Linked DNA regions of Homo sapiens: all the other regions are linked to region 3. The links are contacts of gene promoters, found by promoter capture Hi-C in blood cells and fetal thymus (Javierre and others, 2016). All regions are on one chromosome and are shown on one strand. The core of a region is centred on a gene start or on the middle of the fragment in contact, and the rest is flanking DNA. Distances in the headings are between cores, read along the strand shown. Region 1 has its middle 5.1 kb from the start of KRT4. Region 2 has its middle 10 kb from the start of KRT8. Region 3 holds the start of KRT75 (keratin 75). Region 4 holds the start of KRT3 (keratin 3). Region 5 has its middle 6.0 kb from the start of KRT77. Region 6 overlaps KRT76 (keratin 76). Region 7 holds the start of MIR9898 (microRNA 9898).

What was found. The method cuts DNA at HindIII sites, captures the fragments that hold promoters and counts their contacts. A CHiCAGO score of 5 or more calls a contact.
Region 1: a fragment that was not itself captured here is called in contact with the fragment with the promoter of KRT75 in region 3 in 2 of 17 cell types (endothelial precursors and naive B cells); the score reaches 6.8 in endothelial precursors.
Region 2: a fragment that was not itself captured here is called in contact with the fragment with the promoter of KRT75 in region 3 in 5 of 17 cell types (M2 macrophages, M0 macrophages, erythroblasts and 2 more); the score reaches 6.7 in M2 macrophages.
Region 4: a contact is called between the fragment with the promoter of KRT3 here and the fragment with the promoter of KRT75 in region 3, in 2 of 17 cell types (endothelial precursors and total CD8 T cells). The highest score is 5.5, in endothelial precursors.
Region 5: a fragment that was not itself captured here is called in contact with the fragment with the promoter of KRT75 in region 3 in 1 of 17 cell types (endothelial precursors); the score reaches 5.3 in endothelial precursors.
Region 6: a contact is called between a fragment that was not itself captured here and the fragment with the promoter of KRT75 in region 3, in 1 of 17 cell types (endothelial precursors). The highest score is 7.5, in endothelial precursors.
Region 7: a fragment that was not itself captured here is called in contact with the fragment with the promoter of KRT75 in region 3 in 4 of 17 cell types (M0 macrophages, erythroblasts, M2 macrophages and 1 more); the score reaches 7.8 in M0 macrophages.

Annotation. Positions count from the first base shown.
Region 1 is chr12:52,817,588-52,820,881 of GRCh38, forward strand. No RefSeq gene overlaps it. Among named protein-coding and RNA genes, the nearest start is that of KRT4, 5.1 kb to the left of the region's middle. RefSeq lists an enhancer at 632-1,133. The HindIII fragment of the contact is 1,770 bases long and covers 907-2,676 here.
Region 2 is chr12:52,913,443-52,916,812 of GRCh38, forward strand. It overlaps a transcript of KRT8 not described here. Among named protein-coding and RNA genes, the nearest start is that of KRT8, 10 kb to the left of the region's middle. The HindIII fragment of the contact is 8,808 bases long and covers 1-3,370 here.
Region 3 is chr12:52,433,025-52,435,984 of GRCh38, forward strand. It overlaps KRT75 (keratin 75), which reads right to left and starts at 1,347. Exons shown (of 9, transcript NM_004693.3): 1 at 783-1,347; 2 at 14-228. The coding sequence starts at 1,280. The HindIII fragment of the contact is 2,406 bases long and covers 1-1,887 here.
Region 4 is chr12:52,794,324-52,797,507 of GRCh38, forward strand. KRT3 (keratin 3) reads right to left here and starts at 1,794. Exons shown (of 9, transcript NM_057088.3): 1 at 1,075-1,794; 2 at 1-8. The coding sequence starts at 1,719. The HindIII fragment of the contact is 1,337 bases long and covers 1,064-2,400 here.
Region 5 is chr12:52,707,845-52,711,134 of GRCh38, forward strand. No RefSeq gene overlaps it. Among named protein-coding and RNA genes, the nearest start is that of KRT77, 6.0 kb to the left of the region's middle. The HindIII fragment of the contact is 2,732 bases long and covers 658-3,290 here.
Region 6 is chr12:52,773,714-52,776,910 of GRCh38, forward strand. KRT76 (keratin 76) reads right to left here. Exons shown (of 9, transcript NM_015848.4): 1 at 2,979-3,197; 2 at 1,675-1,889. Among named protein-coding and RNA genes, the nearest start is that of KRT76, 2.0 kb to the right of the region's middle. The HindIII fragment of the contact is 1,487 bases long and covers 835-2,321 here.
Region 7 is chr12:52,896,350-52,899,764 of GRCh38, forward strand. KRT8 (keratin 8) reads right to left here. Exons shown (of 8, transcript NM_002273.4): 6 at 2,330-2,550; 7 at 2,112-2,170; 8 at 842-1,269. The coding sequence ends at 1,079. MIR9898 (microRNA 9898) reads right to left here and starts at 2,635; the gene lies at 2,540-2,635. RefSeq lists an enhancer at 2,566-3,065. The HindIII fragment of the contact is 5,560 bases long and covers 1-3,415 here.

The DNA of each region.
Region 1 (3,294 bases), core at 542-3,041, 390 kb after region 3:
TTGAGGTACTTCTCATGAAGGTGACTTGAGGTGTGCCATCGCTGATACAAGAAGGAAGATGAAGGAAAGGCAGCGGTGCCTCTTGGGTAGAAGGGATTCTCTCTTGGAACTACTGTTATATGCTGAACACTAGGTGCTTCTTCCAACAACCCAGTCAAAGAGGTGCTTTGCTATGTCCAGTTTGGAGCTGCAGATATTGAGGCTCAGAGGGGTATGTAACTTGCCTGAGATCACACAGCCAGGAAGTGGTAGAGATAGGAAGTCAGTACTATCTGTCTGACTTCAAAGCTTGTGACCTTACAATGTATAAAACGGTAGGTATAATGTTTTATATGAGTGACTGGCCCACACAGAATATGCAGGGAAAAAAATACACAGCAACTTATACAGCCCTGTACCTCATGGTCCACCAAGACAGCCATGGGGTCTGGCCAGCAGGCTGCAAGCTCTGCAGATGCAGCTCCGCTCCTTTTTGTCCTTACCCTCAGCACATGGTCAGTTGCTTGGTTGATGTGGCCCTGTCCTTACAAGTACCCAATAAGGTATGACACTGTCCTGAGGGGCCAGTTTTGTATCCTCCAATTAACTAAATCCAAATTAATTTCATGACAAACCCTACCATAAACCCAATCCAAACAAGAAGAAAGTTCTAGTCTAGAGCCACATTCTGTGTCCTTATTATTAAATCAGAATTGCAAGAAGCTCACAAAATCTTCAAACTGAGCCTGAGAAACCGAAGGTAGACCTAAGGAAGAACTTCCTATGCAAGAGCGCCTTTACACCCTAGAGTGAGAGAGAAAGAGAGATGAGTTTCTTTCCCTGAAAACGGGGAAAGACATTGCCTTCATATGTGGGCCAGAGGCAGGTGGCTGAACAAGGCGCCACTACCCAGCAGCCACAGCTGGAAGCTTGTCCCCTGCCCCTCCCCAGACCTCCACACGCAGATTCTGCTACTGCCCTCGGTGACCCTTCCTTGTTTGGCAGCTGTTCCCAATCTTTTCACAGAGGGATGAGCAGCCGACAGGGGTGTGGAGCCAGGCGGAGGGAGTGTTTGCTCAGGGCTTTCTGGGTAAGGGAGGCAAGCCCTTACATTCAGCCCTGGGATTAAGGGATCCTGAGGGCTTCTGTCACTCTCATCTCCAAACCCACTGTGTGGTGTGGGAAAGTGCTCCTGCCCTCCCTGGCCAGGCGGGCACCCTCACTCCATTCGGTCACCCAACCTCAACTGCCCCACCGGGCCTGAGTCATTCTTGGGGAACCAGAGACAACACGGGGATCAGAGATTCTGCAGAAAAGGGCCATCAGCGTTTTAGGGAGAGGCCAGTGAGGGCAATGAGAGGACGGGCACTCCTGAGAGCCAGGTATGGGGGTCTGTACCCAGGGGCTCCTCTTTCCCCGGGCCGGAGAGCTGCCCCTGCTGGCCTCCTACCCCAGGCATATACAGGCAGGGGCTTCCCAGCATGTTCTGGCAGCAAAAGCACCCTCATAAACAAAATCACGTGCACAGCCTCATGAGTAAAACAGATAAGGAGAGATGATCCAGTTGGTGCAGAGGAGGGACCATGATCCTTCTCACCTGCTGACCTCCCCCTGCACCCCTGAAAGCAGCCCTTAGGGTCCTCAGTTTGGAAACCCCTGGGTCTGGGCCATTCCCCTCCTTCGACAAGTATGTCTAAGCAGCGCATTATTGTTGGTGGGCCCCCCTGGGCTGCAGTATAATCTCTGAGGCTTTTTTCCATGACAATCAAAAGTTTCTATTGTTCAGTTTTTGAGCCCTAAATATAATTTTTTTGAGACAGGGTCTCCCTCTGTCACCCAGGCTGGAGTGCAATGGTGCAATCACAGCTCACCGCAGCCTCAACAGCCTCAAGTGATCCTCCCACCTCAGCCTCCCAAGTAGCTGGGACTACAGGTATGCATTATCAAACCCAGCTAATTTTTGTATTTTTTTGTAGAGGCAGAGTCTCACCATGTTGCCAGGCTTGTCTTGAACTCCTGGGCTCAAGTGATCCACCTGCCTCAGCCTCCCAAAGTGCTGGAATTACAGGCAGGAGCCACAACACCTGGCCTATGATCTCACTAAAACTGATTTTTTTTTTAACACTGCCACTAAGTTACCGTGGCTTTGGATACATTCTTCCCCTTCCTCAACCTGTTTTCTTATCTATGAAATAAAAAGTTTGGAGTCGATTACATCCAATGCCCCTTCTAGCTCCAGCATCCCCAGGTCTCCATTCCTTTTTCTATATAAGCAAAATAACCTGGTGCTTAAGAGCTTGGGCTATGGAACCAGATTGCTTGGATTCCACACCTAGCTCTGCTACTTCCTAGCTGTGTGACCTTAGGCAAGTTACTTAACCACTCTGTGCCTTATTTTCCTTATAGGCAAAATTAGAATGATAATAGTATTTATATTATAGGCTGTTGTGAAGAGAATCAGTTAAAGGCTTGACAGCAGTTCTGGCACACAGTTGGCACTCAGTGAGCATTAGCAAGTATTCCTCAAAGTGTTGTACATGGGGTGGACTATACTCCATCTGTCTGAGAAGGGAAGCTAGAGACCACCCAAGCTGGTGAGGCAGAGCTGACCCTAAACCGCTAGGCCTTTGTGTTCCTAAGCTGGAGGTTAGGGTTTGGCTGAAAATCCCTCTGCTGGCCTTCCACAGCCCTGGAGGAAGCTTTCTCAGGGCTCTTCGGGGCTCCTCTGAGGAGGACAGAGTGATCAGGCCGGAAGAGTGTGGGATGCATCCCAGCAACTGCCAGGAGCCCTAAGGTTGCCAAGGAAGGGAGCGGAGTGGTGACAGCCTCGGGTCGGGCCAACTGGTTTGGTAGCAGGGTGGGGAGGGCCTGAGAGGTGCAGGGTTGAGAGGCCAGCCAATTGGGGAATCACTTGGGTACAGCTTGAGGAGTGGGGTCCAGACTCAAAGTAGAGAACTGTGGAGATGAAGAGGAAAGAAGGTGATACCAAGAGACGCATGGAGGGAGGAGCAGTAAGATTTGGCGAGTGATGGAGGCAGGAGTAGGACGGAGGTAGCTTCTGGGGTGACAGGACAGAGGGCTTGAAATTGCAGCCCTGGACACTACTGACCCACCTCCAGCCAGCTGGATGACTACAGCATGAGAGGTCACTTCTGTGAGCGTGAATCGCCTCACCTGTAAACTGGAACACCACATGCCCACTACTGAACCTAGGGCTGTGGTGATGGTCACAGGCAAAGTAATGTATGTGTAAACCACAAAACCCAATTAAGTGTGGATTTTTCTTGCCGACTGGATGTGGGGGCTGAGAGAGAC
Region 2 (3,370 bases), core at 1-2,500, 480 kb after region 3:
AATTTTCAGGAGGGCAGAGGTGCATGATGATAAGCAGGTGTTTTTGAGCACGTGTCTTTATATGCATGTATCCATATAAATACAAAGCACACATGTTTGATGGGTTATCTCCCAGAACAAACAGCCTCACAGGCCCACCCCCCACCCTGTGGGCACACAACCTCAGCCTATAGCACACACGCCCTCTTGTCCCTCACACACTCTCTCAGGTTCACACACACCCCACCTGCCCTCTCACTTGCATGGCCTGACGCACACGCCAAGGTGCAGTACCACCTCACATCCTCATCTCAGGCACAAGCATGTGCGTGTACCACCCGTCAGAGTCCCGTGCACACCACCTTCCTACGAACGTCACACACATACCTGTGCACACACAGCCATATATAACACACATCCAAACTCAAATACACGGTTACAGGTTTGTTTGTTTTTTCTTTTATACAGACAGAGGTTTCACTATATTGCCCAGGCTGGTCTCAAAATCCTGGCCTCAGGCTGAGAGAGGTGGCTCATGCCTCTCTAATACTAGCACTTTAGGAGGCCAAGGCCAGCTGATTACCTGAAGTCAGGAGATCAAGACCAGCCTGACCAACATGGTGAAATCCCGTCTCTACTAATAATATAAAAATTAGCTGGGCATGGTGGCAGGCACCTGTAATCCCAGCTACTCGGGAGGCTGAGGCAGGAGAATCGCTTGAACCCAGGAGGCAAAGATTGCAGTGAGCCAAGACTGCCCTATTGCACTCCAGCCTGGGCGACAGAGCGAGACTCTGTCTCAAAAATAAAACAAACAAAACAAAAAAAAAATCCACCGGGTGCAGTGGCTCACGCCTGTAATCCCAGCACTTTGGGAGGCCGAGGCAGGCGGATCACCTGAGGTTGGGAGTTCGAGACCAGCCTGACCAACATGGAGAAACTGTCCTTACTAAAAATACCAAAAAATTAGCATAGTATGGTGGCGCATGCCTGTAACCCCAGCTACTCAGGAGGCTGAGGCAGGAGAATTGCTCGAAGCCAGGAGGTGGAGGTTGCAGCGAGCTGTGATCATACCATTGCACTCCAGCCTGGGCAACAACAGTGAAACTCCGTCTCAAAAACAAACAAAAAATCCTTGCCTCAAGCAATCCTCCCACCTTGGCCTCCCAAAGTGCTGTGACTCCCAAAGTTACAGGTGTGAGCCCCAGCTCCCAGCCAAAGGATACACATTCTTGATTGCAAGTGGCTGAAACCCAACTCAAACAGACTTAAGCATAAAAAGATCATTTCTTATAATTGAGAAGTTCAAGGGTGCATTTGGCTTTCAGCCTAGCCAGATAAGGGGCTCAGTGATATCATCAGGACCAAGACTCTCTTCCTGTCTTTTGGCTATTTTCCTCCATGTTAGCTTCGTCCTCGGGCAGGCCATCTCCCTGCTGCAGGAAGGGCGACCACTAAGGGAGCACCTCTTTCCCGATGCTTCCTGCTGAAGTTCCAGGGCTGACTCTCCAAGGCTGATATAGGTCACATGCTCATCTCTGAACCAATCCCTGTGGCCAGGGGAATAGAATACTATCATGTTGACTAGACTAGACCACATAACAAGACCCTGTGGAGGGGTGATCAGCCCCACCCAACCTATAGAGAAAGGGGAAAAAAAATGTGATTTGGGCCAGGCGCGGTGGCTCACGCCTGTAATCCCAGCTCTTTGGGAGGCAGAGGTGGGCGGATCATGAGGTCAGGAGATCGAGACCATCCTGGCTAACACAGTGAAACCCCGTCTCTACTAAAGATACAAAAAATTAGCCGGGCGAGGTGGCGGGCACCTGTAGTCCCAGCTACTCAGGAGGCTGAGGCAGGAGAATGGCGTGAACCCCAGGGGACGGAGCCTGCAGTGAGCCGAGATCTCGCCACTGCACTCCAGCTTGGGCAACAGAGCAAGACTCCATCTCAAAAAAAAAAAAAATGTGATTCACCAAAAGACCAGGAAGAAATGCTGGACAGGGCCAGGAACCATGCCTCACGCCTGTAATCCTAGCACTTCAGGAGGCTGAGGCGGGTGGATCACCTGAGGTCAGGAGGTCGAGACCAGCCTGGTCAACATGGTGAAACCCCATCTGTACTAAAAATACAAAAAAATCAGCCGAGCATGGTGGTGCATGCCTGTAGTCCCAGCTACTTGGGAGGCTGAGACAGGAGAATCGCTTGAACCCAGGAGGCAGAGGCTGCAGTGAGCCAAGATCCCACCACTGAACTCCAGCCCAGCCTGGGTAACAGAGCAAGACTCCGTCTCAAAAAAAAAAGAAGAGAAAAGAAAAGATAAACAAATGCTGGACAGGCAGAAACAACAGATGTTCACTACATATGCTAACCAAAATGTACACCAATAAAGACGTGGAACCAGAGAAGCCAGGTATAAAGATATCCGTGTACACACCGAGCCCTTCTATAAATACAAATACTACCTGGCCAAAGTCTACCTTCTGTACCTTATCAACGGAATATTGATTTCAGATAAATAAATGATTCAGATGTATGCTATAGGACTTCAGGGGAAGGAGAGAGCCCTTAGATCAAGCTGAGCTTAGGAAAGTAAGATATGGATGGAAAGATCTGGAAATGTGATAAGCCACTGGACAGGAGCGGGATTCCTATGGAAGAGTAGAAAAGCTAGATATTGGGGAGGAGGGTGGGACTAGGGGTTTCAGAGGCCAGACAGAGCTTTTTCTGCAGGCTGCAGGAAGGGAGGAGCAGGATGATGAGCTTAAAGCAGTGCTTTAGGAAAATTAAGCTGGCTGGGGTGTTCAGGATAGATGGTAGGGGCAAAAACTAGGGGCAGGAGACTAGAAAGGGGGCTACTGCAGAAAGCAGGTCTGGAGGCCTGCAGTGTGGTAGGAGCAGGAAGATAGGGATGGACTCAAGCTAGAACCAACAGGAGGTGGCAGTTGACTGCATGGGCGTGAGTCCAAGGTCACTCAGCTGCACTTCTAGCAGCTCCCTGCTGAACCCTAGCACCTTCTGTTCCAGCTAGACTGTTCCATGCACTTGCCATGAGCCACTGGGCTTACCATCGTGTCATCCAATCAGTTTTAGACACAGCTCCTTGGAGACAGAGCAGGTTCCTCCAGCGTCTGTGTCTGGTTCCTGTCTCAGTGCCAGCATCTGCCCAGCAGGGTACTGGCCCAGAGTAGATGCTCCAGAGTAAATGTATAGACCCTCCCCTGAACATGCAGTTTATACTTGCCTCCTTAGCTTGGTTCATCCCACACACACCCCTTCACTCTGGTAACAGCACGATGAGGCTGTCTCAAAACCCACCACAGTCCTCAGCAGCAGAAGCAAGTGTGGACAAGCCCGCCTTCTCGCATGCTGACCATGCTGGAGCAGGGTA
Region 3 (2,960 bases), core at 97-2,596:
GTCTCCCACTTACCTGACTTTGAAATCTTCCACAACATCCTGCATGTTCCTCAGTTCAGCTTCAAGCCTGCCCCTCTCGGTGGTGATGCTTTCCAGCTGCCGTCGGAGCTCACTGGTATAGGAATCAAAGAGGGGCTCTAGGTTCTGCCTCACAGTCCTGGAGCCCTGCTCCTGCAGGAGGGCCCACTTGGTCTCCAGGACCTTGTTCTGCTGCTCCAAGAACCTCACCTGGAGGGAAGAAGAGAGAATGAAACCTTGAGAAGTTGGAGAGGCAGAGTTAGACACTCCTATTAATAAGGGAGAGAAGAAAAAGATATTTTTTTCACTTGGCACCCATTGACAATAATGTAACTGACAACTCCAACCCAAAAGGAGGCAGTCCATGGAGCTACCGCAAAGTTCCCTAGGGCTTGCATAGGATTCGGGTGGTGGGGCCTAGAGGCTTCTGTTGGGGAGCTGCTCTTGGGTTAAGTTTCTCAACACCACCTACTCTGGGTTAGGGTAGTTTGCTGAGCAGCAACTCTCCTGTAGAGAATCAACAAAACTCTTCCCTTGGTGTTGACTGAACCAGCCCATGTGGCTCCGAAAGAGAGGAAATTTCTACCAGGTCCTGTGGGGCAAGCTGGCCTGACTTGGAAGGGTCTCAGCCCCTGGGAGCCCGTGCTGAACAGTGCTCATTCCCACAGTGGGGTCATTGCATTATTGCTCTCCCCCCATGGGATGGCCCTTCCAAGAGTTTATTTGATCCCAAACCCAAGGGGGTGGATGAAGCCCCTGCTTACCTTGTCGATGAAGGAGGCGAACTTATTGTTGAGGGTCTTGATCTGCTCGCGCTCCTCGGCCCGCACCCGCTGGATGGTGGGGTCGATTTGCAGGTGAAGAGGAGTCAGGAGACTCTGGTTGACAGTGACCTCTTGGATGCCTCCAGGGGGACACACGGGGAAGCTGGGGCCACTGAAGCCTCCTCCAACTCCACCCCCATAGCCAAATCCACTGTTGACTCCAAACCTGTTGCTGGCCCTGCCACCAAAGCCACTTCGGCAGCTGCTGCCACACCCATTGATGGAGACCCGCTTGGCACCCCCCAGGTTGTAGAGGCTGCGGCTTCCAAAGCTGGCCCCAGCACTGCTGATCCTTCCCAGGCCCCCACTCCCTGCTGCAGAGCGGGCCACAGAGACAGAGCTGAAGCGGGAGCGGCCAGCTGCCGGGGTGATGGCCGAGGTGGTGCTGAAGCCCCTGCGGCTGCCAGACTGGAAGGTGATGGAGGACTGCCGAGACATGGTGGGTGAGGAAGGCCGGCGAGAAGGCACCTGAGGTGGGCTGGTACAGGCAGTGGAGAAGACAGGTGGCTGGAGAGCCCTGGTCTCGTGGCTTTTATGAGCATCCTGTGGGGGCGGGGCACTGCTAGTGGAGAGGGCCTTCTGATGGCATTCCCTGGGCATCCGCCAACCCTGAGCTCACACTCGGCATCCCTCGGGAAATGGTGTAAGGGCCACTGGCTGGTTCCCTGGCACCCCCTCCCCACAACGTGCAAACTCCTTTCCAGTTGCAACTTGATCAGCATATGAGTAAGAAGCAAGTTAATTGCTTTCCGTCATGTGCTAATGATGCATCTTGTAAAGGACTCAGCAAACACTGCCTCATTTCTAAACCGCTTTCTTAGGCCTGGGACCAACTCCGTCCTGTCCAAACATCTTGTGTTAATACAAGCCACTACACTTCACTGTTTCCTTGGGGTGCTTCCTATTCCCTAAGCATTTTCTCAGCACCTACTGCCTGGTTCCCCAAGCCCCATCAAGCTGTCTTTCCAAACCTTGAAGGTCGCGCTCTGTAATCATCTTCCTTAGGAATCCACCCCATTTTGATTGCCCCTTTATTCTGCTCTTAAGCTTCCGTGTCTATTGTGTAGGTCACACATGGTTTTCTGGAGTGTATGTGTGCCTGTGCCCTGCCCACTGCAATATAATGTGACTCTCAAGGCCAGCCAGTGCTCTGTCTCCTGGGAAGAGAGGTTGTGAGAGGAGAAAGACTCGGGTTTGAATCTCAGACCTGCTCATAGTTGTGGGACCTTGAGCAAGCCATGAAACTTTTCTGTGCCTCAACTTTCATGTCTGTAAAATGGGGTTTGTAATGAATATTCACATGTGAAAACTTTCGCAATGCCCGGTATATGTAAGTGCTGAGTAAATGTCTATTGAGGCTCCCCTCTTTCTGATACAATCAAGTAATATTAAGGAAGTGCCAACCATGTCCATCCTGTGACTAGTCCTGTGGGAATTCAAAAGAAACACAATGCACATTATTTATCTTCAACAAGCTCATGGTCCTGTTGGGAAGATAAAACTGTACAAGATGGTGTACCATGAATCATCACCTCCAAGCTGCATTTGAGGCTGCCTATCCCAGAAGTCTCCCAGGCAGTTTCCTCCTCCTCCTGAGGACCAAGAATTCCTAGCTCTCCAGTCCTTCATCAAAAGAGCTCCAACAGCTGCACCTAGCAGAGGATTCGTTCCTTCCCTGTTTCTCCTGTTAACCTTGTAGACTGTGCCCTACATTCTATATTAGTCTACAAACCGCAAAGAAGACTTCAAGGCACCTCATCTCTCTGTTCTGCAACTCATTGCCCCATCTCTACCATGGGAAGAGTCAAACCAAAACATTGCTGAATCTTCTTTTTTTTTCTGCCTTGAGACAGGGTCTCACTCTGTCACCCAGGCTGGAGTGCAGCAGCTCAATCTCGGCTCACTGCAACCGCCACCTCCTGGGCTCAGGTGATCATCCCACCTCAGCTTCCTGAGTAGCTGGGACTACAGGCATGCTCCACCATGCCTCTCTAATTTTTTTACTATTTTGTAAAAACTGGGTGTCGACATTTTGCTCAGGCTAGTCTTGAACTCTTGAGCTCAAGTCATCCATCCTCTTTGGCCTCCCAAAGTACTGAGATTACGGGCTTAAGCCAC
Region 4 (3,184 bases), core at 544-3,043, 360 kb after region 3:
AACCGCACCTGCAATGGTTGCAGGAAGCAACATCAGGCAACACTTGTAGCAGAGGAGCAGAGGGGCCTTCACTCAGGTAGGACTAGGTGTCTATCTCCTGGGCCCCCAGCACAAAGGCCTAGAAAAGATGCAAAGATAGGCTCCTACTGTAGTCAGAGAGATTATGATCAGATGGGTGATGAGTCAGGACACTACACTTGCAGCGTGGTTTGGAAAGTTACAAAGGAAGGGGAAGTAGCTCCTACCTGAAAGCAATAGAATTATTGCTTGTTGTTCCTGGGAACTTCATGACCCTATCTTAACTTCCAAAACCACAGTACACTCTACAAAAATGCACATAAACCTCAGCAGCACCATTTCCACCCACGACTCTACTGACATGCTAGCTCTTCAAAAACAGTGAAGTGATGCTGGGAAGCTGGGAAGCAACACTGGCTGGCATGCCACAGTTAGCATGACAACACCTCTCTTGGGCCTGGAGGGGAGGCAGCCCCATGAGAACTGTCCTGGTCTGGAGAAGCTCACCGAGCACTCTTGTCTTCCTGACTAGGCTGAGTAGGAGTGCAAAGTCACTCATTTCTCTGCGCTCCCTTGGGACTAACTAAGGTTCTTATGCTCTTAATCCCTGCTCCAGGTAATCAGCCTCCTCTGCCTGGCACAGCAATATGAGGGGGAAAGGGCTTCCTGGAAAGCCTCAGAGGGCAGCTTGTATTTGAAAAGCCTCCCATTCTTGGTGGACCCTTCGCTGATGGTGGCTGTGGCCCTTGCCTTGGGCTGCCTGCCCTGCCAGCCTGGGCCTCAATGAGGCAATGACTGGAAACTTCAGCAGGGGTTCCCACAAACAGGATGTGTGGTGCTCAGGTCCAAATAGGGGACTGTTTTCTTTCTACACCTCCCCTCACTTGACCATGTAGACAAACTCCTCAACCCTGGATATCTTCCCAGACCCTAGAGTTCCACCTAACTCCTCACCCTCCAGTCTGGCCTATCCAAGAAACATTTAAACACTGTGTCCCAAAGGTCAAATTCAAAGTCCCCAGCCCAGGAAGGGATGACCAGTCAAAGCTTCATTACCTTGTCAATGAAGGAGGCAAACTTGTTGTTGAGGGTCTTGATCTGTTCCCGCTCCTGGGCCTTTACTTGCCCAATCTGGGGGTCGATCTCCACATTGAGGGGCTGCAGGAGACTCTGGTTGATAGTCACTTCCTGAATTCCCCCAGGAAAGCCCCCAGGGCCAAAGCCACCAGGACTGCCCAAGCTGCCAGGCCCACCAAAGCCACCAGACCCACCAAAGCCACCAGGACCACCAAAGCCACCAGCCCCTCCAAAGCCACCAGCCCCTCCAAAGCCACCAGCTCCACCAAAGCCACCTCCCATTCCTCTGCCACCACCAAAGCCACCACCAAAGCCACCTCCATAGCCGCTCCCAAAGCCACCTCCATAGCCACCTGCAAAGGCACAGCTGCTCCGCCCTCCCCCAAAGCCTCCAGCCCGGGAGCCGCCAGCTGCCACGCTGATGGAGATGCTCTTGTTGCCGCCCAGGTTGTAGAGGCTGCGACTGCCAAAGCCACCTGCTCCGCTCCGGAAGCCATAGGCCCCTCCGCCAGCTCCCCCAGAGTGGGCCACACAGCTCATCCTGCTGCTGCCGGAGACCACAGCAGAGCGGCCGGAGAAACCCTGGCTCCCGCCACCAGATGTCTTGCTGGCTTGTCTGCTCATGGTAAGGAGCTTGGCGAAGAGAAGAGTGTAAGTTAAGCAGGGACACTGAGAGTCAGAGGAAGAGGGATGGGAAATGAAGACCTGTGCAAAATAAATCCCTTTATATACATTTGAGGAGGTTGTTGGGCTCAAACGAAGGAGAGATAATTAATCCCAAATATTCATGGGCTGGGTTTGCCTCCAAGGCAATAAGTTTGTTCCAGGCTACCAAACACACCTTGAAAATAAGCTGAAATGGTAAAAGTGCTAAGGTGGCAGGCTTACCTGGTGAGGGGGTGGTGCCTGGTGTTGCCCCATGTTTGGGCATGGCCTCCTCCTAGCTCTGTCTGACAGGACCCAGGAGGCACGCTCACCTGCATCAGGTGCTCAGCAGCCATCCCTCTGCCTATTAGCTGCACCTGGGCCCTGCAGAGCGGTGCCCAGCTCTGGAGAGGATAGAGTGGAGGAGGTGTGGGGAGGTTCTGCTTCTCTGAGTAGTGGAGACAGTGGAGCCCACTCACAGCTCTGGGAAAGTATCTTAATGGAAGGAGTGATGCAGGTCTCTCCACAATGACTGAGTGCACAGTATGTGCCCAGCTCTACGCTGGCCTTTGGGATGAAGCGCTGACCTCTCCTTCTCCCTTCTTGGAAAAAAGCCCAGAACTATCACAAATCTGCCTCCTGGGTTCTCCCTGTACCCCAAGCTTTAGTTCAGGAGGTAGTGACCTTTTGGTTTATGACTATCTTTGGAGAAAAAGTCAAGTTAACACCTATGTATGTTGAGCAGACACTGGCAAAATCCAACATGCCTAATGTTTGTTTCTCTTTAAAACTTCCCAGAGAAATTATACACTATTACACATCTTGGGGTTTATCTATGGCTTCCTTTCTTGCTCCCCACATTTTGGCCTTTCTCTGGTTTTAGCTTAAGGCCTAGGGAACAAGAAATTCAAATGTCAAGTCAACAACAAATTCAGCAAATATTTACAGACTGCCAAATGTGTGCCAGGCCCTTTGCAAAACTCTGGAGACCCAGTCATGGACAAGACACACAGGGCCCCTGTGGGACCATTTTCTGTTTGAGAGATGTGCTCCTGAGAGTCGCCCATGCCCCCTCACAAACCCCAGAAAGCCAGATCTGGCAGAGCCGGCAGCACTATGGAATATGTCTGACTCCGAAAGCCTGAAACTCTCCCTGTCTGGGGTTGTTCAGAGGCTTATGACTGGGCTTGGTTTGTCCAAAAGAAAGCCATCCTGCACACTCTGGAGCTGGCCAAGTTAGCTGCTTATCTCTCCAGGACAGGCCTTTTTTGTTCTGTCTGCTGCACATTGGGCCCTTCTAAGGGTGTGGTCTGTATGGCCCTGGCAGGAGCCTCCTTAGAATTGGGGGAAAGGATAGAGACTTCTTCAACACCCACTGGGTAGGGCTGGGAGTGGCCCAAGTGCAAAGGAAGTACAATTTTCTTCAGTGGCCTGGTTCTTCCAT
Region 5 (3,290 bases), core at 774-3,273, 280 kb after region 3:
GGGAAGGACCAGAGAAACTGCTCGTGCCAAGGCCTAGAGAAAGGAACGGGCATGTGAGGGGGTGGGATGGGGGAGCCATGAAGAGGCCCCCTTGCCTCGAGGGAGCAACTGGGAAACCCTGAGGCCTGAGTTTGGCTTCGGTCACAGAGGGCTCCAGCAATGTCTTTGAGTGGAATTTGTTCAGCACTCGCCCAGGTTTCTATATACTGTCATGCTGAATGTGAAAATATTCCATTGTGATAACATAAAAAAGGAAGTCCCGGACAGCAGAGTTTAGGAAGCTTCTTTGATCTCTGTCTATGATCAGCTTTCAGCATTCAATGCCAACATTGTCATCTACCTCCCGTCAGCTGATGGCCCCTGCTGGGCTGTTGTCATCCCTTGAAGGGCTTGGGAGGGGAGGAGGGACACACCCACTAACTGAGCTTTTGGTGGAGGGTGATAGCTATGCTCTACTTCCTCAGAAGAAAAAAAAATGACTTAAAGTGAAGCACGAGAGATTTTGCTTGTCTCAAAGGAAGTGTTTCAACTCAGATCAATATTAGTGGGTAAATAATGTTCCTAGGACGAATCACTACCCCTAAAAGAAACTCCTCAGCTGGTTAGACTGCAGAGAGCAGCGGTTTCTAAACTGGCTCACACTGGAATCACCTAGAAAGCTTCAAAATCGCTGGTGCCTGGGCCCACACCTAAGGAGTAGAGTTTAATTGGTCTGGGGCTATGGTCTGGACTTTAGAATTTTTAAAAGGTGGTTTTAATGTGCAGCAAGTTTGGAGACCACTGACCTGGAGGAAACAGGACAAATGAAACAGCCTCTTTAGATTCCATTCAGTCTAAGGACACAGATAGGAGTAACAATCATTATCATAATAGTGAACTTCACCAGGTGATTTCCATGGACCATGCACTGTGCTGTCTATAACATGGAAGGTCTCGTGAAATCTAAATACCAACATCATAAGGAAGATATTCTTACTATGTTCATTTTGCAAATGGAGAAAGTGAGACTTGGAAAGAGAATCTTGTCAAAGAATACACTAATGAAAATAGTGGAATGGAGATTTGAACCCGCGCATTCCCACTTCAGAACCTACATGTATTGCAGAAGAGATGGGGTCGTTGGAGAGAGATGTGCCCGCTTCCTCCTCTCCCCACCTGCCACCTTAAAAGGAAAGTGGGAAGTTAGTTGAAGGCTGCAGCTCACCCAGCCCATCTCCCAGTTACTGAAACCCAGGGCTGCCAAGAAGGTGAGGCCCAGAGCAACTATCAGCCACCTGGATCACAGTTCCAGACAGCAGCGGGAAGCAGGGTTCAGAAGAGCTGCTGGCATGACCAGCAGGAGCAGCTCCCAAAGCTCTATCCCCCACCTCACCCTACATTTCCCAGGGTCTGGAGGTGGATATCACAGAGGTGTGTCAGGGGCGTGGGGCTGGAAAAAGGAAGGGAGAGAGACTCTCACTCACCAGTCCCCACCAAGAAGAGAGTGGAGAGCTGCAGCCCCGGTCTAGGAATGGGGGCCTTTAACCTCCTTGAAATGAGAGCCTTTTGACCTGTCGTCAGCACAGGGGAGGCAGTGATGTGACACATATCGGAGAGAAACCTATTGGAGCTGAATAGAAGCTGCTAGACTTGGCTTCCCCACCCTTGGCCCACTCTTCTTCCTGCGTAACAGCATCACAGCCAAACATATGATGGACGGTATCAGCCCAGTCCTTCATTTTACAAGGAAGAAATGGGTACAAAGACAGGGACTTGGCCAAAGTTACCCAAAAAAGTTGGTGGTGCAGATAGAATGAGAACTTGGCTACCCTCCCCCGAATTCAGAAAGAATAAGGAGGCCTATGTGAAATTCCCAGGTGCCTCTGTGCTCCTGCAGCCTGGGAGAGATGACTATATGGGGCGTTCCACCTTCAATCTCTAACAAGCCTGCACGCAGGCATGAGAAGGTGGTGCCAGGCACACAGGAACATCCCTGGTGAATCCTCTGATTTCTGGGTTGGGGTGTGTGTTTGGGGCAACACCTAGGGCCTTAAGCTCCTACTGAGGCCCAAAACTAGCCTGGACACCACTTTGACATCCCTTTAACTAGAATCTCAGTGTCTGCCTAGAGCATAAGAATCGGGCAGTCTCCTTCCTTCTCGGCAAACCCAATAGGTGCTTTTGGGCCTGGATATTGTCTAGAGGCCTCACTAAGGGCAGCTTGCAAATTCCCACGGCAAAGGTCCAGAGACAATATTGTGCCAAGCGTGTCAAAGCTCTTCCATCCAACATACTGGAAGTCATGACTATTTATACAATCATTTATTTATTTATTTATACAACCATTTATTTGTTTATAATTCACCCAGGCTGAAATGCTCACTGCAACCTCCACCTCCCGGGTTCAAGTGATTCTTGTGCCTCAGCCTGGCAACTCTTTTGTCTCTGAAGCAAAGGGAGCAGCTAGGCAGGTGTGGCCCCAAAGGAAAATAAGGCTACAGGTTAGACTTGGATTGAATTCCAAAAGAAACAGTGAGGTCCCAGCGGAGGAATGGTGCTGTCTGGGCAGAGAATGCTTCTATATGTTGGATCAAAGAGGACGGGCCAGTCTCAAGGTTACAGGGGTAGTTAGTGGTGGGGTGGGACCAGCATTCCAAGTCCCTGAGGGTAATATGAGACCTGCCATCAATTCCAGGTTCGTGTCTCACTTGACCATGATGGGAGAGATTACAGTGCTTTATAACCATAAGGAATTTGCAGTGTATTATTCTCTTCATTTAAAGAATAGACAGGTTCCTGAAACACTGGCCATAATTAGTAATGACCTTTTATTGAGCTCTTACAATGTGCCAAGAATTAAACAGATGACATGATTCCATCCACACAACTGCATTTTACTGATGACTTTTGGGTGAGGGGTCTGGAGGGTGGCTCAAGGTCACACACTCCTGGTAAGGAGTGGGCCCAGATTACACCTAGCAGCTGGGTTCCAAAGCCTGAGAGTTTCTTGCTGTACTATCTTATCTTCTGCTTTATGGGGCAATTTAGGAGGGCTTTGAGGTTAGGCCTTCTGGAGTTTGAATCCTGGTGCCATCCCTTCTAGTTACATGACCTTGGATAAGTTCATTCATCTCTCTGCGCTTTCATTTCCTCTTTTGTGAAGCAGAGGCCATAACACTGCCTACCTCACAGGGCTGTGAAGATTAGATGGGTTAATTCAGAAAAAGCTCAGCACATGTCAGGCAAATAACAAGAGATCATCTACTTTAGCAATTATTACATTATTACAAAAGTAAATTTCTATTAACCAA
Region 6 (3,197 bases), core at 328-2,827, 340 kb after region 3:
CACTCTCCTCACCTGCGCAGAGACAGGACGAGCTTCATGGGCACGTGCAGTTACACAGGACCCTGGGCTCAGGGTCCTCACACTTAGCTCAATGCTGGCACCATATTGACATTCTTTCTTTTTTTTTTTTTTTTCTGAGACAAGGTTTCACCCTGTCACCTAGGCTGGAGTGCAGTGGCACAAACATGGCTCACTGTGGCCTCAACCCCTCAGGCTCAAGCAATCCTCCTGCCTCAGACTCCCAAATAGCTGGGACTGGAGGCATGCACCACCACGTCCAGCCAATTTTTTAATTTTTAGTAGAGACAAGGTCTCACTTTGTTGCCCAGGCTGGTCTCGAACTGTTGGGCTCAAGTGATTCTCCCTCCTCAGCCTCCCAAAGTACTGGGATTACAGGCATGATTGAAATTCTTAATAATTTTGTAACTAGGTTCCTGCATTATCATTTTGCACTGAGGCCTGAAAATCACGTAGCTGGTCCTGTCCAGAGACCTCTCAGAGCTCAGGGCACTGCCTGGCCCTCTTCCCTCTAAATGCAGTGATGGGCAGAGGTATGGGCAGTCAGTGAGAGGGCAAACTTCAAGGAGCCTGACCACTTGCCTAGGCTCTTTGATTGACTTTGCAAAGCACAATGTGTGCATATGGAACCCAGTGAAATGTGTGCTCTCATTGGGCATTTCTGCCTATTTCCTCAGTTTCTGTTTTCCTTCATTACAGTTACTTCTTATAGGAATTTCAGTTAAGAAAGAATTCATACCTTCTGAATGCATCAAAGTTGTGGGATTCCTGCCTGTTAAGGACTAAAATCTACTACCAAGAGTTTGTATTTCATAAAGCTTGAGGAATTGGACTGATTCTAGGAGAAAAGAGGTCTCTAGGCAGGACCTCTTTTTTTCCTCTAGGAGAAAAGAGGTCTCTGGGATCTCTTTTGGGAATATGAATCTGAGTTGCCACTGAATTCCCAGAGCCCAGCACAGAGCCTGCCACAGAGTGGGTGCCCACCACGTTTGTGTGGTTGAATTGGAATAGGGCCTCTGCAGAGCAGGTGTGCCCGTCCCTGTGGGTTCTGATCCCTGGGGAAGTCGGGAGCTCCCTCCCACCTTGAGAGGCCCAGTTTGCTCCTTGCAGACCTCAGCGGATATGGACTGCAACTTGGAACGTGGAGGAGGAGGCAAACCAAAGCTGCAGAACAGGAGATTGGACGGGACACACTGATAAAGGCCTTTACCAAGTGCAGCCCTGGACCTCTGCCTAGAATCCCCAGGAGCTAGGGGAACACTCACACTCCTGGGGCCTGTCCACACCTATGATTCAGAATACCTAAGACTGGAATACAGGAATACGCATTGTTGACAAGCATCCAAGGTGATTCCTGTGTCCAGTCAAGTGTGGCGGACTCCCCATCCTAAAGGATTCTAAACTCTGGGAGGACTCTTTTGTCCCTCTGGGCTGGAATAGGAGGGGGCCCATCTGGAGCCTGAAATCTGTGTCATAGCCACATGGGAGTCTCAGTCCCCACCCTTTCACCCCCTTCTGCTTTGTCATGTTTCACTCAATAAATCCATCCCAGAGTATTGACTGAAGGCACAGTTGGGAACAGTTGAAATCCCAAATTAGGACCACACCTCCCTGCTAATTCCCCAGAAGGGGAAACTTCCCAGGAGGAGCCCTCACTTCTTTTTGAAGTCTTCCACCAGGTCCTGCATGCTTTTCAGCTCTCCCTCCAGGTTCCCCCTCTCCCCTAGAAGTGAATCTAGCTGCTTGCATAGGAAGCTGATGTAGGATTCAAAACAAGGCTCCAGGCTGCTGGGCCCTGAGCCTGTGGTCTGCTGCTGGAGCAGTTCCCACTTGGTCTCCAGGACCTTGTTCTGCTGTTCCAGGAACCGCACCTGCATGAAAGAGGGGAGAAAAGGAGTCAGCCCCTTGAGTTGGGCATGTGGGGCTGCCCATCCCAAATGTAGAACTGTGGAGAAGGAACCCAGTTCTTCAATCTACAATTTCCCCTGTTTTTTAATTTGGGAAGGATGAAGATTTAGCAAAGGGAGAGCTAGAATTTGTTGAGTGATTATGCCTTACCTGTTATTTTCATGTATTTCCGTCACATTTAATCCTCACAACCACCTATAAAGGAGTTGCTGTGATCCCCATTTTGTAGATAAGGAAACTGAGACTCAAAGAGTTTAAGTTTCCCAAAGTGACAAGTCTACTGAGTGACAAAGCTAAGAATCAAACCCAGGACTGTCCTGGGTCTATAGGGATCCTTCAGAATACCACTGAAGGAGGTAAGCACAAATAAAGTTTGTCATTGTTTTTTAGATGTAAGCTTTTTTCAGCTCCATAAAGGCAGTGAATACAGTCAATGAGGTCTAACATTTCTTTAGAAGTTTCACATAGGAAGACCTCCTTTCAGTTATTCAGCTTGCAGCTGAACTAGAATTCACTTCAGATCCTGGGCTCAGTCCCACACAGACCCAGAACACCCTCCTCTGCCCCAGCATGGACAGCTCAGTTTAATTATTGGCTGAAGCACAGCATCATCTGGAAGGTAAGGCAGCTGCCAATGCACCTCATTTAGATGCAGCCTCAAGATCTGTGCTAACACAAGGTTTTGATTACCAGCTACTTTGGATTATCAAGCAATTGCTTTTCAGGAGAAATTAAAGTAACTGCAATAATTTCATGACTAAAATGGCTCATTCTTCAAAAAGCTAAGAGCATGTTTGGACCCCCACTTCATTTACCCTCATCTCATTCTTAGCAGGAAACCAGGACCAGGAATTCTTCCCCCCATTTCACAGCTGGAAAAAGAAGGCCCAAAAAGTGAAAGGGGCATGATCACTGTCCTGTAGGGACCAAGACAGCACCAGGACAAGAGCCAAGCGCCCCTGCCCTGTGTCTCACAAGTCCCCATGGCATCTTTCTACACCGACCCCTGGGCACCCCAAACCCTCCACAGCACCTCTTGGCCTTGCCCTCACCTTGTCGATGAAGGAGGCAAACTTGTTGTTGAGGGTCTTGATCTGTTCCCGCTCCTGGGCCTTTACTTGCCCAATCTGGGGGTCGATCTCCACATTGAGGGGCTGCAGGAGACTCTGGTTTACAATCACTTCCTGAATTCCCCCAGGAAAGCCCCCAGGGCCAAAGCCACCAGGACCACCAAAGCTGCCAGGCCCACCAAATACACCAGGACCACCAAA
Region 7 (3,415 bases), core at 290-2,789, 460 kb after region 3:
AGGTTGTCTCAAGAGTCAGGCAGACCCCTTCACACACTGTGCACACCCATGCACACACAGTACACCCTCCACATGCAAACACAGAATGCACACACGCCCTTTATATCATACACACAGCTTGTAAAAAGGATAGGAAGGGGGTGGTGGCTGTGACTGAGTGGAGTGGGGAAGGGCCAAGTCCCACAATTTCTAGCTTCTAGAAATTGTGGGTATGACACACCCAATGGCTGAGAATAGACTCTGAACCTCTGAGGGGATGGAAAAGCCAGGATGCCTTAGTCCCTGACTGCAAAGATTGAAGGTGATAAAAAGACATGTCTGGCCACAAGGAAAGGCCATGTGCCTGGCCAAGGAGGAGTACAAGCCTGAGAGCTGGACAGCTCTGGGTTCCAATGCCAAATCTGCTAGTTTCTAGATGAGCCAACTACTTGGCTTCTCTGAGCCTGGCTTTCCTTATATGCAGATAGTCCTGATGCCAAGGTGTAGGGGAAGCACACTAAGCTCTCTGCTGATAATGCCCTCAAAAACTTGCTCTGCCTGCCTCTTGAGCCTTGCTGCACAGATCACATGAACCTTGGGATTTGAAAGCACACTGTAAACCAGAAAGCACTGTGCACAGGTCAATGACTATTATACAGGTGTAGATATCTATGGCAACAAGCAAGGTTTCAACCAGGTTTCAATAAAGGAGCCTCTTTAGGAACAGCTGAGGGGGTCAGACTTTCCCGCTGTGCACCCCCTGCTTCCTGGACCCCTCCCAGCTTCTCAGTCCCAAGAAGAGGCCTCCTGACCACCTCCCTCCCACCCCAGTGGACATCAGATGCACACACAAGCAAGGACATTGGCAGAGCTAGCTGAGGTTTTATTTTGGACCAAAAAAAAAAAGCAATTGAATTGTTTTGTAGCTGGAGGCATGGGCAAGGGGGGTCCCCAGGTAGTAAACTCCCCAGGTGGGCTGAGGGCTAGGGCTGAGCCTCAGGTGGGTCTCCTGTTCCCAGTGCTACCCTGCATAGCGGCCTCCTTCCCAGGCTCTGGGGCAGCGCAGGAGGGGTAGGCTGGGAGGGGCTGCCGCAGCTGTTCACTTGGGCAGGACGTCAGAGGACTCAGACACCAGCTTCCCATCACGTGTCTCGATCTTCTTCACAACCACGGCCCTGGAGGAGCTGGTGCGGCTGAAGGAGCTGGAGCCCGCGCCAGAGCCAAAGCTGGAGCCCAGGCTGTAGCTGAGGCCGGGGCTTGTGAGGCCCCCATAGGCCGAGCTCAGACCACCTGGTGAGGGACAGAGGTAGCCACATGAGTACAGAAGCCCACCCCATGGCAGGCTCCATGCCCCTTCTCCCTGCTCATTCCCAACATAGCCCCAGGGATGGGAGGTTAACCCAGCTCTGCCTGATCAGTGATTGCATGGTTCACTACTCCAGAACTGTCAGGGAAAACCAGGAGCAGGGTGGAAAACAGCTGCCATATATATAGCTGTGTGACCTTGGACATTTAGCTGCACCTCAGCTTCCTCAACTGAAGACGTTTACAGGTGTCATATAAAAAATAAATTACAGCCAGGCCCAGTGTCTCATGCCTGTAATCCCAGCACTGATCACAAGGTCAGGAGTTCGAGACCAGCCTGCCCAACACAGTGAAACCCCGTCTCTACTAAAAATACAAAAATTAGCTGGGCATGGTGGTATGCGCCTGTAGTCCCAGCTACTTGGGAGGCCTGAGGCAGGAGAATCTCTTGAACCCAGGAGGTGGAGGTTACAGTGAGCTGAGATCACGCCACTGCACTCCAGCTTGGGTGACAGAGCGAGACTTCGTCTCAAAAAAATTAAATTAAATTAATAAATAAAATAAATCACATAAAACCTGTAGGATACTTAGCACAGTGCCTGGCACACAGCTATGGTTTATTTGGGTGCTTTCTAATAGTAAAGTTACTAAGTAATAAAGTTATTACTGGGGTCCTGAATATGTGCCTCCCCACCCTAGGATTCTCCCAAGAACATGAGTGCTCAGGCTGAGGTCACTGTGAGCGACTGAGCACAGCCCCCTCCCTGGAGCTGAGGCCTCCCTGGGCCCTGCCTCCCGCCCTCATCCCAGGGCCCTGGGACACCCACCTGCATAGCCGCTGGTGGTCTTCGTATGAATACTCATGTTCTGCATCCCAGACTCCAGCCTGTACCCAGACAAATGGGGTGTCAGGACCAACTCCTAGCCCTTCTTGGCCCAGAACAACAGGACCCCAAGTCCCAAGGGGCTTCAGGGGGCTCCCACCGTCCCCACCCCAGGTCCCAGGGATAGGGAAGCAGGTCCGGTCAGAGGTACCCACACCCACCGGCTCTCCTCGCCCTCCAGCAGCTTCCTGTAGGTGGCGATCTCGATGTCCAGGGCCAGCTTGACGTTCATCAGCTCCTGGTACTCACGCAGCTGCCGCGCCATGTCCTGCTTGGCCCGCTGCAGGGCGGCCTCCAGCTCGGACAACTTGGCGTTGGCATCCTTAATGGCCAGCTCTCCACGCTGCTCGGCATCTGCAATGGCGGCCTCCAGGGAAGCCCTCTGTGGGGTAGGGGACAGGTAAGTAGGTCAGGTTGGGTATGCCTTCTCTTCTCCCGTGCTCCCACCCTCCCTCAGGGTCCTCCCCACCACCACCTAGGCTGACTCCCCCCAGCTCAAATTAAATGAGACTAAGGGCCGGGCACAGTGGCTCATGCCTGTAATCCCAGCACTTTGGGAGGCCGAGGCGGGCAGATCACAAGGTCAGGAGATCGAGGCCATCCTGGCTAACACAGTGAAACCCCGTCTCTAGTAAAAATACAAAAAAAATTAGCCAGCCTGGTGGCGGGCGCCTGTAGTCCCAGCTACTCAGGAGGCTGAGTCAGGAGAATAGTGTGAACCCAGGAGGCGGAGCTTGCAGTGAGCCGAGATCACGCCACTGCACTCCAGCCTGGGCGACAGAGCAAGACTCTGTCTCAAAAATAAATAAATAAATAAACGAGACTAAGGAAGCAGATCAGGGAGACATGAGCAGTTTCCAGGTGCTTCCCCTCCACACCCTTCTCACCTGCGACACTGTAAGGTCCCCCTACCCTAACTGGACTAGATCCCTGGGTTCTAGACTTTCCTTAAAGCAGCAGAGCTCAACCTTACCCTGATGCATATGACTGATTAAAGCAGGCTTGGGAGCATGTATCACGAGCCCCAACATACCTGCCCCAGTCCCCTTTCACCTCTGTCCTGGCCCAAGGGACCTTCCCTGCATCCCTTTGCTTCTCAGAAGCAGACTGAGAAGCTGAACTGTGGCTGCCCCTCCAACTCCTGAACCCTGGTCTAGGATTCCTTCCCCGACTCCCAGAAACTTCACTCTTCCTACATTATCTCCTCTCACCAGGATGTGTCCAAGGAACCCCTCCCACCCCCAACC